3 separate regions of the Homo sapiens genome follow, and regions 1 and 3 are each linked to region 2. The links are contacts of gene promoters, found by promoter capture Hi-C in blood cells and fetal thymus (Javierre and others, 2016). All regions are on one chromosome and are shown on one strand. The core of a region is centred on a gene start or on the middle of the fragment in contact, and the rest is flanking DNA. Distances in the headings are between cores, read along the strand shown. Region 1 holds the start of LCE2C (late cornified envelope 2C). Region 2 holds the start of LELP1 (late cornified envelope like proline rich 1). Region 3 holds the start of LCE3E (late cornified envelope 3E).

Region 1 (3,835 bases), core at 689-3,188, 530 kb before region 2:
GTTGTAGGCTTTCAAAGAATGCCTTTTGAATTCACTGCTCTGACCACACTGTTGACTTACTTTATCCTTCAGGTAAAAGCTTCCTGAGAGCAGGAATCAGATCTGATAATAGGATTGCATAACTAGGAGAACAGAATCCCTCAGTTAGAAGCTGACAATGGGAAACTATGCTTTCTCCGCATCCTCCCCTCCCCCACTAAGTAGGCATTAGGCAATGTGAAGGCACAGTCTGTTTCTGTTTTAATCAGAGGTGTGAATATCTATTTTTTTCAATTCTAATTTTTAACACCTTTATTGAGATGTAATTAACATATTTGTAGTTCATTTGTTTAAAGTGTAAATTCAATGGTTTTCAGTATATTCACAGAGTTGGACAATCACCACCATAATTTTAGAACATTTTCATTACTTCACAAAGAAAACCTGTATCCATTGGCAGTAACTTCTCAATATCTCCCAGCCCGCTAAAGCACCTGGAAGCCACTGATATTTCTCAGAGGACAGGCATAAACATAAAAGGAGATACAGGGAACAGAATCTCATCCAGGCTCTTGTTCCTCGGATGCCCTGAGTCAGCTCTTCAGGGGTCCAGCCTGGGAGAGGCTGTAACTGGCTAAAGCCTCATCCCCTTTCTATTTCCAGAGATTTGCCTACTCTACACATTTCATATAAATAACATCATACAATATGCAGTCTTTTGTGACTGGCTTCTTTCACGTAGTGTAATGTTTTCAAGGTTCACACTCAATGTATCTGTTTAAACTAAATGAATAAATGACTGGGTAACTCTGTCTAGTGCAACCCTGAATCAGAACTCTGAATAACTAGATTCCTGGCTGACCCTCTACTTCCTGGTAGGAAAGGAGTTCCCTCTGCATAGGAGCCCCAAGAAATGATGTCTACTTCCCAAGACAGGTTTCAAATAATCTAAGTGTCTGGTGGAGTTAAGCTCTCTGAGGGTAAGGGCTCTATATGGGCAATTAATGACACATAAGACCGGGGCAAGTATCCAATACATGGCATTAGTTTTTCTATTAAACATATATTTATTAAGGGTCTATCAGGCACAAAATGTCATACTTAGCTCTTTCTTGCTTCTCACTTTATATTACAAACAGCTCAGTGAGATAGGTATATCTCACTGATAGGTTTATAATGGGCATTATATGTGAGAACTGATACTCACAGTGAGTATCATAGTAATACTCTAGCAATTATTGATAATTGTTACAGCAACTTTCAGAGATTACCCAGTTATCATATGCAAGTTTTCTGATTCCAGTAGCACATTCAATACAAGTCCTCTGACTGAAGGAAATGTTTAGATTTTAGAGGGAATTGTTTATTCTCAATCATTCTCCTTGCTTTAGGTGACAGAATCAACTCAGATTTAATCCACCGAATCTGCTTGCCATGGTGAGTCGGAGGAAAAGCAGAAACACAGAGGCCAGGAGGAAGGGCTGAGAGCCTAGGCAAGGGAGGGATGCCTAGAAAAAGCCAAGGCTGTAGAAGCCCTCTGGGATGGCTGGATCCACAGCAGGACATGGAAGAGAAACTGCTCAGGGTGGAGGGAGTCATAATGGAACATTTCCACAAGGTCAGGGAAAGCTGTGGCTCAGAACTGATGTTTCCTCAGAGGACATGCATTAAAAAAATGCAGGGAACAGAATCTTGTCCAGGTGTGGGTCCCTTGGGTACCCTAAGTTAACTCTTTAGGGTTCCCACCTGGTGGAGGCTCTGACTGGCTACAGCCTCTCTAGACTGCAGCCCCAGAGAGGAGTCCTGGAAGCTCCTGAGGCCTCTTTGGATTGCAGGGACTAAGAGGCAGGAGAATGTCAGGAATGACCCAGCGTGTGCCTGGTTGTGCAAGAGCCACCTCCTGCTCTTTCCAGAGCCAAGCCTGGGCCCTATAAAAGACACATCCAGCTTCAGCATCTCATCTGCTCTGACTCCCCAGGGACGTGTCTGTGCTCCTGCGTGTGACCAGGGTGAGTGGCAACCTGGGATACCAGAGGGGTATGAGCAAGGCAGAGGGATGGGGAGGATGGAGGTAGGCTGGAGAAAGAGTTGTGTGCTTGTGTTCTGCCATACTGAGCAGGAATGGGACTCAGCCTGCCTCGAATCTGTTGAGGCTCTGAGGCCTACCGGAGCTCATATAGGTGGGGAAAGCTAACTGTGCACATCTTTTCCAATTCTGTGTTCAGTGACTTCATGTTGGTAACTTCAAAACTGCTGTGTTGGGCATATTTACACCATGGAAACTGGCAAATACTTCAAGCCAGGCTCTTTTATCTGGAGGTTTCATTGCAAAATATTTTCCAGAGGACCCCTTGGTATGTCCTGCAACACCCAGCTTGTCCTTAGGGCTTGTATTAAAGGAATAGGTACTTCAGGGAGCTGTGAATACTCTATTCGGGCTTGTGAGGATAGAGCAATCGCAGTTTCCCCTGAAAGGAAGAGTAAGAAGCTCATTCTGTTGATTTTTTATCTACGTACTTTTATCTAGAGGAAAGATTCAAGTTGTTTCTTTCAGGTTACTGATGTGATTGTATTATCTAAATATCATTCTTCTTCTACACATGCATTGATTTTAGAAGAGGTATAATATGATCCTTGGTTTGAAATATTTAAAGAGTTTCATTATTATCTTTCAGGTTGACTAAACTCCTGCCAGCATGTCTTGCCAGCAAAACCAGCAGCAGTGCCAGCCCCCTCCCAAGTGTCCTCCCAAGTGTACCCCAAAATGTCCACCTAAGTGTCCCCCCAAATGCCCACCACAGTGCCCAGCTCCATGTTTCCCTGCAGTCTCTTCTTGCTGTGGTCCCAGCTCTGGGAGCTGCTGTGGTCCCAGCTCTGGGGGCTGCTGCAGCTCTGGGGCTGGTGGCTGCTCCCTGAGCCACCACAGGCCCCGTCTCTTCCACCGGCGCCGGCACCAGAGCCCCGACTGCTGTGAGAGTGAACCTTCTGGGGGCTCTGGCTGCTGCCACAGCTCTGGGGGCTGCTGCTGACCTGGGCTACAGAAGAGCTCTTGGGACTGAATGGCCAAGAACCTGCTACGGCCTGATGGATACTCTTTCCACTTCCTCTCATTCCATTCATTGGTTGGCAGAGACCACAAAGACTCATGGGGCTTTCCTGGAAGAACTTCGTGCTTGATGTAACACCCCAATTGCAAGTCTTCTTTTCCTCCTTTACCTCATGTTATAATAAAGCTCTGATCTCTGACTCACTAAATGTCTTGGTCATTCTCTTCTCTTCTGAGATTTCAAATGTCCTCCAAAGGTCAGGGCCTCAGAGTAATTTTCTTCATGAGGCTAGGACAGGACATGAGTAGGTGATACATGAAAAGCTGCTCTGAGGAACTGATTCCCCCAGATGCTGAGTGAATGGAGCTCCAAGAGGGTCACCTCTGGCTATGGTAGCTTTGCCTTTCTCTCCACTAAGCCAGACACATGTTCTAATTTTCTGTGTAATCCAGACGTTGGGAAGGTTGGGAAGCTCTGCAGACTTGTTCTTCTCTAGGGAGAAGAACACATCCCTATGAAGCAAAACTTTCCTGCCCTTAGAATCAATAGTTGGATAAAATGCTTGAAACAGATGTTGAGACCCTTCCTCCTGTAAAGTACAGCCCATGGTCACTCAGCTTCTTTTCATGAGTCTGGTTAAGATCAGCCTTTTGACTTGCTGCCTTGGACACCTGGCTTCAGTTCCTCACAGTGTTAGATCTGAGTCCCAGGATGCTGTCCTGCCACTTGGCTCACGTGCTGGGCAGGGGAGTGATGAGTGATGGAGATATTAAGTGAAAAAACATGGAAGTGTTGCTTAGAAGATACAA
Region 2 (3,616 bases), core at 115-2,614:
TTAAAAAAAGAACAACTTGCTGAAATGCTGAAACTCTCTCCATTTGTAAGATAACAAAATTGGCTGAAGTCATTGGAGCCAATCTGGCAGACTGGAGTCTGCACAGAAAAAGCGTGCTGATGTCACAGCCAAATTTCCACTGCATGTTTCATACTGACCCTCCCCGAAACTGCACATGTGACCCATGAGGTAGCATGAAGAGATAACTTCCCATGCCCGAGGACTTTTTCCAGCCCTCCCTTTTCCTTCCACCAGTCACCTACTAATACCAGAATCTAATCCCTAACCTTTCCCAATAAAATGACTGCCTTAAAGCCAGCACAGGGAGACAGATTCAAGCTAAACTCTTGTCTCTTTGATGGTCTAGTTGCAGTAAAAAGCTTTTCTTTTCTCAAAAACCTGGTGTCATCGTATTGCCTTCTAGTACACTAGGAAGAAGCCCTTTTGCTCTGGAGTCATCTTCAATTCTTAATTTTCTGCACAGTCAGTAAATAAGTCCCATGAATCTACCTGTCTAATGAGGTCTTTCTCATGGGCACCCAGACCCATGACTGCCTTCCTTCAGATGTGGAGATTTTCATAATTTCTTTAAAACAGTCTCATTCGACTTTTACTTCACCACCCCATCTCCCAATCCATCCTAATATTTAAATACCTTAGGCATAATCATGTCACAATTTTAATCAAAAGTCACTAGAGATTCATTCGTGATGACTGCCACGATGAACCTCCTAAACCTGAGTTCAGGCACCCTGTGTCTAAGCCTACCCACCTTTCGCACTCCAGCCTCCCATCGCCACTCCTAACACACCCCCATTCCAACCACAAAGACCCTGGTCAGGCCTTTAAAAAAGGCAAGGAAGGAATTCTGAGAGGCAAATCTTTGTGCCCTAAGGCAGGATCTGGGGCTAACCCAATTGTGTGGGGTGGTAAGAAGAGGTTTCAGAATCTCACATTAGAAAAATAAAGAAAAGAAGAATGTCAAAATGGCAGTGATCAATTCAGGGTTGCTCTCCTAGAAGGGTGGGGAAGGAGCAGGTTCAGAGGAATTAAACTTTGAGGGTGGAAGAGGAGCTGGAGACCATGTGTCAACAGTGGGCCAGCTTTTCTGCTCCCAGCAACAATGAGCCTCCCATCCTCAGAGCCCAGGACTCTTCACTGCAGCCTCATTTTACCAGCCTGAATGTTGAGGGGTCTAGGGAGGGGTGGGACAGCCAAGGGGGGTGATTCATCATGGCTCTATTCTGGTGTTCAGGGCTTGTTGTGCTGGGAGCTATGGAGTCACACAACAATTGCCCCTCGATGATGCTGCAATGACCTCATAAGTGGAGGTCATTTCCCCTGCCCCCACCCCCAGCTTCCTCAGATCTGGGCAGAGGAACCAAAGGGAAAAGCCACCTTCCCAGGCACAGCCATAACATCCACCTCACTCAACTGCTTGTCAAGTTCACCACCAACACAGAGGGGTAAGTTGCATTTGGACAGGTGGAAGTGGCCACTCTTTGGCCTCTTCTACCCTGGGAGTGACCTGAAGTACCCCACGCACTGAGCAGGGTTGGGAAAGTCATGTTTGAATGAAAGTTTCCTGTTATTTTCAGTGGTAAGAACTGGTGTGTGCTTCACCTTGGAATAGAGTCTCAACAATTTTAGAGTTCAACTTAATAATATGCCTCCCCAGAGAGCTATACTGATTTTAAAACAAAATTTAAAATGTTATTTTTATATTGTTAAAAGAAATCAAAGAAATATAACCAATTAGATCCAACTTGAAGTATTGTGAGGGACTGAAAATCCCTGTCCATATCTAGGAGTTAAACTGTCCGTGCAGAAATGCCTAGCTCAGGGCAAAACTCAACAGGAGAGAAAAGGAATTCCCTTCTGAAAATCACATTTTGTGGCTCTATCATTCAGATTTTCAGAGAAATTGGAATTTCGTGGTTCATCTCCTGATTTCTTCCCTTACCCTATTATTTATCAGAACCTGGATGGAGACAAAGGAGTGGGCAGTTCTAGAGTAGCCCATGGGAACCCACTCATGGCAGGGATTAAATTACTTTCCCTCCCATGGCCTCTAGTAAAGAAAGCAATTCTCAAGGTTCAGGGAACTTAGGTGGGACACAGGATTGAAAGCAGTGTCCTAGGCCCCCAAGTCTGCTAGTGTACCTCCCATCTATCTTCAGAGGAACAGGAAGTGGCCTTAGAGGAGCGAAACTTCTATTGTGCCATGAATGCCTTGAGCAATCTGGTCAAACTTAGGGACTCCTTGGAATCATGTTTCTAAATGAATTAAATACAACATATGGAGTTACAGAGACACCAACTCTACTGAAATACAGTTTCAGTGGGGTGGGGGAGGTGGGGGGTCCAAAACCATAGGTTAAGAACTCCTACTAGAGTCTATAGCATGGAAGCAAGAATAAGTGAAAAGGAAGCAGAGTTAAGGGTGGAGAGATTAAGAAATGCTATCTCAAACTCATACAAGGATGAGGGCGGCCCTAAATGAGAAGATGATCTAGAGCCTGAATGCATCTCAGGGAAGACTTTCTTAAGTACAAGGATAAGCTGTAAGAAGCCTGTAGGTATCCTCTCCCACCTACAATGCATCTCATATTTCTTTGCAGGGCTCAGATAATCAAGAAACAATGTCGAGTGATGATAAAAGTAAATCAAATGACCCCAAGACTGAGCCCAAGAACTGCGATCCCAAGTGTGAACAAAAGTGTGAGTCCAAATGCCAGCCCAGCTGTTTAAAGAAGCTGCTGCAACGCTGTTTCGAAAAGTGCCCATGGGAAAAGTGTCCAGCACCACCCAAGTGCCTGCCCTGCCCCTCGCAGTCTCCTTCATCCTGCCCTCCCCAGCCCTGCACCAAGCCCTGTCCTCCTAAATGCCCTTCATCCTGCCCACATGCTTGCCCACCTCCCTGCCCTCCCCCAGAGTGAGGCACTGTGGGCACTACCCAACCCCACCACCACTGCCACCTCCACCATGTACAACGCTGTGGGGCTGGAGACTGAAACCATGAACTGACAAGTAAACGTGTTCCTCTGCTGTGCAAGACTTCTCCTGGTGTTTCTGGTGGGTTTTGATTTGTTTTGTTTGTTGTTTTACAGCACTAAACCACCAACAAGCAATCCCTGAGAAGTGAGGCTAGAACCCTGCACTCTCAACAACCTTTGAGAACTGACTTTCCCTCTGACCCCACCTGCTGCTTAGAGGCAGGTGCCCACTTCTGAAGGGTGTACCCAGGTAATGCCAGGCTGTGTTAGAGCAAAGCCTGAGAGATCCATAAATATGGTTGCAGCTGTGAAAGCGTCTAACGCCAGGAAGCAGGAAAGAGATGGTATGAGGGAGAAAGAGGAGTAGAATATTGGTGAAAGGTCCAGGAAGGCTCAGGAAAAGGCATTGTACTACTTTTCTGTTAGTCCTGTTGCATAATGCTTATGCAGAAGGGCTCTCAGTACAGGCTGCATGGGTTTAATGCAACTCTATCTCTGCTCCCTAACACCTTGTAACCTTAGGCAAGTTGCTTAACTTCTTTGTGTCTCAGTTTTCCTCTCTTTGCAAAAGGAATGATGATGCTAACAGTACTGCTGTTATGAAGTTGTTGTGAGGCTAA
Region 3 (3,651 bases), core at 999-3,498, 640 kb before region 2:
GGTTTCACCATGTTGTCCAGGCTGGTTTTGAACTCCTGACCTCAAGTGACCCACCTGCCTTGGCCTCCCAAAATGCTGGGATTACAGGTGTGAGTCACCATGCTGGGCCTCAGGGTCTTTTTGATCCCTAAATTTTAAGAATTAATTTATAGGATTTGACAAAATCCTTTTTTAGTTCAATGGACTTATAAGGTTATCCATCTTTATTTTTAATGCCCCCCCTCCACCTGCTCTACTTAGCCCTCACATCAACTTCTCTTAGTATTTGTAATTTGACTGTAGCTCTACGTGACACTTCTCTGGTTTTCTGGTAGTCAAAGTGAGATGTTACTCTTAGTTCACATAAAAAAACATTCCTTCAACCCCAGGAGCATCTCAGTCTCACAATTTAGGCCAAAACATGTGACTCCATTGAAGTTGTAACTTCCATGTGTTGATGTCAAGGTCGTGTAGTTACAAAATTAATAATTTGTTGCTTCTTTGGTATATCTATTTATAATTCCAGGAACACTTCTCATTTTCTGCCTTTTTCTTTTTCCTAAAATTCTCATTTTGCACATTCCAATAATCTCATTGAGTAAACTCCCAGCCACATCTCTGCTCCATTATCTCATTAATTTAAGCACCTCTCTCAGCTTTCATCTCTCTCCCTGGATTTTCAGTCACTGAGTTATACTTCTTCCCAAGGCTTACATCTCTTCCCTCCATCTTTTGATTCTGCTTCTCTTCTGCCTATTTTCTGCTTTTTTGCCTTTTGATTTCCGGTTTCTTAGTTAGCACTCCAGAAACAGCTCATCAAAACAAACTAGTGGTCTTCTGTCATACACTGGAAATTCCCCAATTGTATTAATGTCCTCTCAGATTTTACAGGAAAAGTCAATTTTTGCACTGATACCCTCTTTGAGTTTGAGGTTGAGTTTCAGGGCCTCAAACCAGCACAACCTGTGTCGTTCTCTCCCTCCCACTACAACATAAAACTCTCCCCTTCCCTTCCATCAGTGGAGCGGGGTCGGATCCACTATGTTTTCCTGGTGCAGAGATAAGGTTTGGCTCCTGAGCTGGGTTGTACTGACCAAAGAGCTGAGGAGAGAGACTGTGAAATGCCCAGTGGGACGCTGGTGGTAATGAGGACAAGGAACTTTATCTTTTTTACGAGGTTGGGCACAAGCACTGCCAATCCTTGGCAGGTACAGGGGTAGGGGGACATATGACATCCTGTACATAAAACAAGAAGTGCCTTCTGGGGAGAGCTCAGATCCCCCACAGGAAAACCTCCAGCTCAGCCTGTGAAAGTCAGAAGAGGGTATATGGGAAGGCATGCGTCAGATGGGGCTGTTCTTGGCCTCTTGGGATTCTTGTTTCCTCCAAAGATCGCTTGTCTCAGCATCAGGATCTGGATCAGCAGCAGCCCCCAGAACCGTGGCAGCAGCCAGAGCCCCCGCCTTGCTGACCACTGCCCCTGTCACAGGAGTTGGACCTCTGGCGCCGGCATCGGTGGTGGCGCCTGTGGTGGTTCAGGAAGCAGCCGCCCTCGGAGCTAGGGCCACAGCCCCCAGAGCTTGGGGCACAGCCAGAGGAAGCTGGAGGCAGACACTGTACTGGGTTCTTTGGGGGACACTTGGGTGAGGGGCACTTGGGTGGGGGTTGGCACTGCTTCTGGTTCTGCTGGCAGGACATCTTGGCAGGAGTTGAGATGTCCTGGAGAAAACGAAGCCACTTCTTAGTTCAAAATCTACAGTCCAACGTCTCTAAGACCAGCTGCCTCCTGAGGCAAGAGCTGCAAGAGGGTGAGGGAAGCTGATGTGGAGCTGGTGGGATATGCCAGATACTTCTCACATTGCTCTCCACCCGGGACAGATTGCTGTGAGTCTAAGTGGGCACGTGTGTTTCTGTTTCTCCAAAGAACCCCTAGGGAATGCACCCTTTTGGGAAAAAGAATTCTGTAGAATGGATGTTACAGGAAATGTGCCTGCCTGAGTAGAAAGAGGATGGGAGGGAATTGTGAGCTCTGTGGCCTTTGCAGGTCATGGAATTGCTGTCAGTTCCTGCAGGGTCTCCCTCCTGCCCCCTTCCCCCATTGCTGCCCTCTCACAGTCCTGTATCTGGGTCTTTGTTTCAAACCTCTCTGTTTCCATCTCTTCTGCTATGGCCTTAGCTTTCTGTTCTAACATCCCATATCAAGCCCTGTCCCCTGCTGAATACTTACCAGGTGCAGAGAGGCAGGAGAAGGCTGTTCCTGAGGAGACTGTGGAGGAGCCCAGGGCAGGAGTGCTTTTATCCTGTGCAGGGTGTGTGATGCACAGGCTGGGCATGCTGCTGCTTTCACAACCAGGGGAGGTGACAGCCAGGCACACCCTTGAGACTATCCATTCATCACCTTCCTGTGTACTCACCAAGATGCCTGACAAGAGGGAACCAGGAAGGTCTGACGCCTGTTTACCTTCACCTCATTCAGGCCTGCTGGGGGTTGCAATCCTACCTTCCTTGAAGCAATTGTTTTTATCACCACTCATTAGTAGTCACTCCTTATTCCACATTGCCCCTCTGGCAACTAGTAATCAATTTTTTGCCTGTATGGACTTGCCTATTCTGGACACTTCATATAAATAGAATCATATAATATATGGCATTTTGCATTAGCTTCTTTCACTTAATATATTGTTTAAGATTTATCCATGCTGTAGCATGTGTCAGAACTCCATTCTTCTTTATGGTTGAGTAATATTTCACTTTATGAATTTAGCACGTTTTATTTAACCATTCATCAAGTGATGGACATTTGAGTTAGCTCCAATTTTTGGTTATTGTGAATAATGCAGCTACAAACTTAATCTTTATTATTTCCTTCCTCCTGCTTTATGTTTAGTTTCTTCTTTTTTTCAGTGTTTTAAGGCAGAAGGTTAGGTAATTGATTTGAGATTTTTCTTCTTCCTTAATGTAGGCATTTGCAGCCATGTATTTCCCTGTAAGCATTTCCTTTGCTGTATCCCATAATTTTTGGTATGTTGTATTTTTATTTTCATTCATCTCAAAGTATTTTCTAATTCTCCTTGTGATTTCTTTCTGAACTCATTGGTTGCTTAAGACATTTCTGAATTTTCCAGTTTTCCTTCTGTTATTGATTTCTAGTTTCATTCTCCTGTGGTTACGGATGATACTTTGTATGATTTCAGTGTTTTAAAATTTAATGATACTTCTTTTATGACCCAACAAATGGTCTACCCTGCAGAATGTTCCATGTGCAATTGAGAAAAATGTGTATTCTGCTATTGTGGTTGGAGTGTTCAACAAGATGTCTGTTAGATTTAATTGGTTTATAGTGTTGTTAAAGTCTTCAGTTTGTTGATTTTCTTCCTAGTTGTTCTTCCATTAATGAAAGTGGAGTATGAAAGCTTCAAGTATTATTGTTAAATTGTTTATGAGTTGTCTGTTTCTCCCTTCAATTTTGTTAGTCTTTGTTACATGTAATATGGGACTCCATTGTTAGGTGCATATATATGTATAATAATTATTTCTTTAATAGATATGGATCCTTTTGTCATTATAAAATGTCCTCTTTGTCTCTGCCATTAATTTCGTCTTAAAGTCTATTTCGTCCAGTATTGTATAGCCACTCCAGATCTCTTGATTACCATTGCATGGTGTATGTTT

The links. The method cuts DNA at HindIII sites, captures the fragments that hold promoters and counts their contacts. A CHiCAGO score of 5 or more calls a contact.
Region 1: the fragment with the promoter of LCE2C here is called in contact with the fragment with the promoter of LELP1 in region 2 in 16 of 17 cell types (endothelial precursors, total CD4 T cells, M0 macrophages and 13 more); the score reaches 16.4 in endothelial precursors.
Region 3: a contact is called between the fragment with the promoter of LCE3E here and the fragment with the promoter of LELP1 in region 2, in 4 of 17 cell types (M1 macrophages, M2 macrophages, megakaryocytes and 1 more). The highest score is 6.9, in M1 macrophages.

The regions. Positions count from the first base shown.
Region 1 is chr1:152,673,341-152,677,175 of GRCh38, forward strand. LCE2C (late cornified envelope 2C) reads left to right here and starts at 1,939. Exons shown (of 2, transcript NM_178429.5): 1 at 1,939-1,988; 2 at 2,655-3,229. The coding sequence starts at 2,676. The coding sequence ends at 3,008. The HindIII fragment of the contact is 8,836 bases long and covers 78-3,835 here.
Region 2 is chr1:153,202,066-153,205,681 of GRCh38, forward strand. LELP1 (late cornified envelope like proline rich 1) reads left to right here and starts at 1,365. Exons shown (of 2, transcript NM_001010857.3): 1 at 1,365-1,466; 2 at 2,622-3,055. The coding sequence starts at 2,643. The coding sequence ends at 2,939. It also overlaps a transcript of SPRR2G not described here. The HindIII fragment of the contact is 8,615 bases long and covers 379-3,616 here.
Region 3 is chr1:152,564,532-152,568,182 of GRCh38, forward strand. LCE3E (late cornified envelope 3E) reads right to left here and starts at 2,249. Exons shown (of 2, transcript NM_178435.4): 1 at 2,207-2,249; 2 at 1,123-1,698. The coding sequence starts at 1,677. The coding sequence ends at 1,399. The HindIII fragment of the contact is 4,975 bases long and covers 1-3,390 here.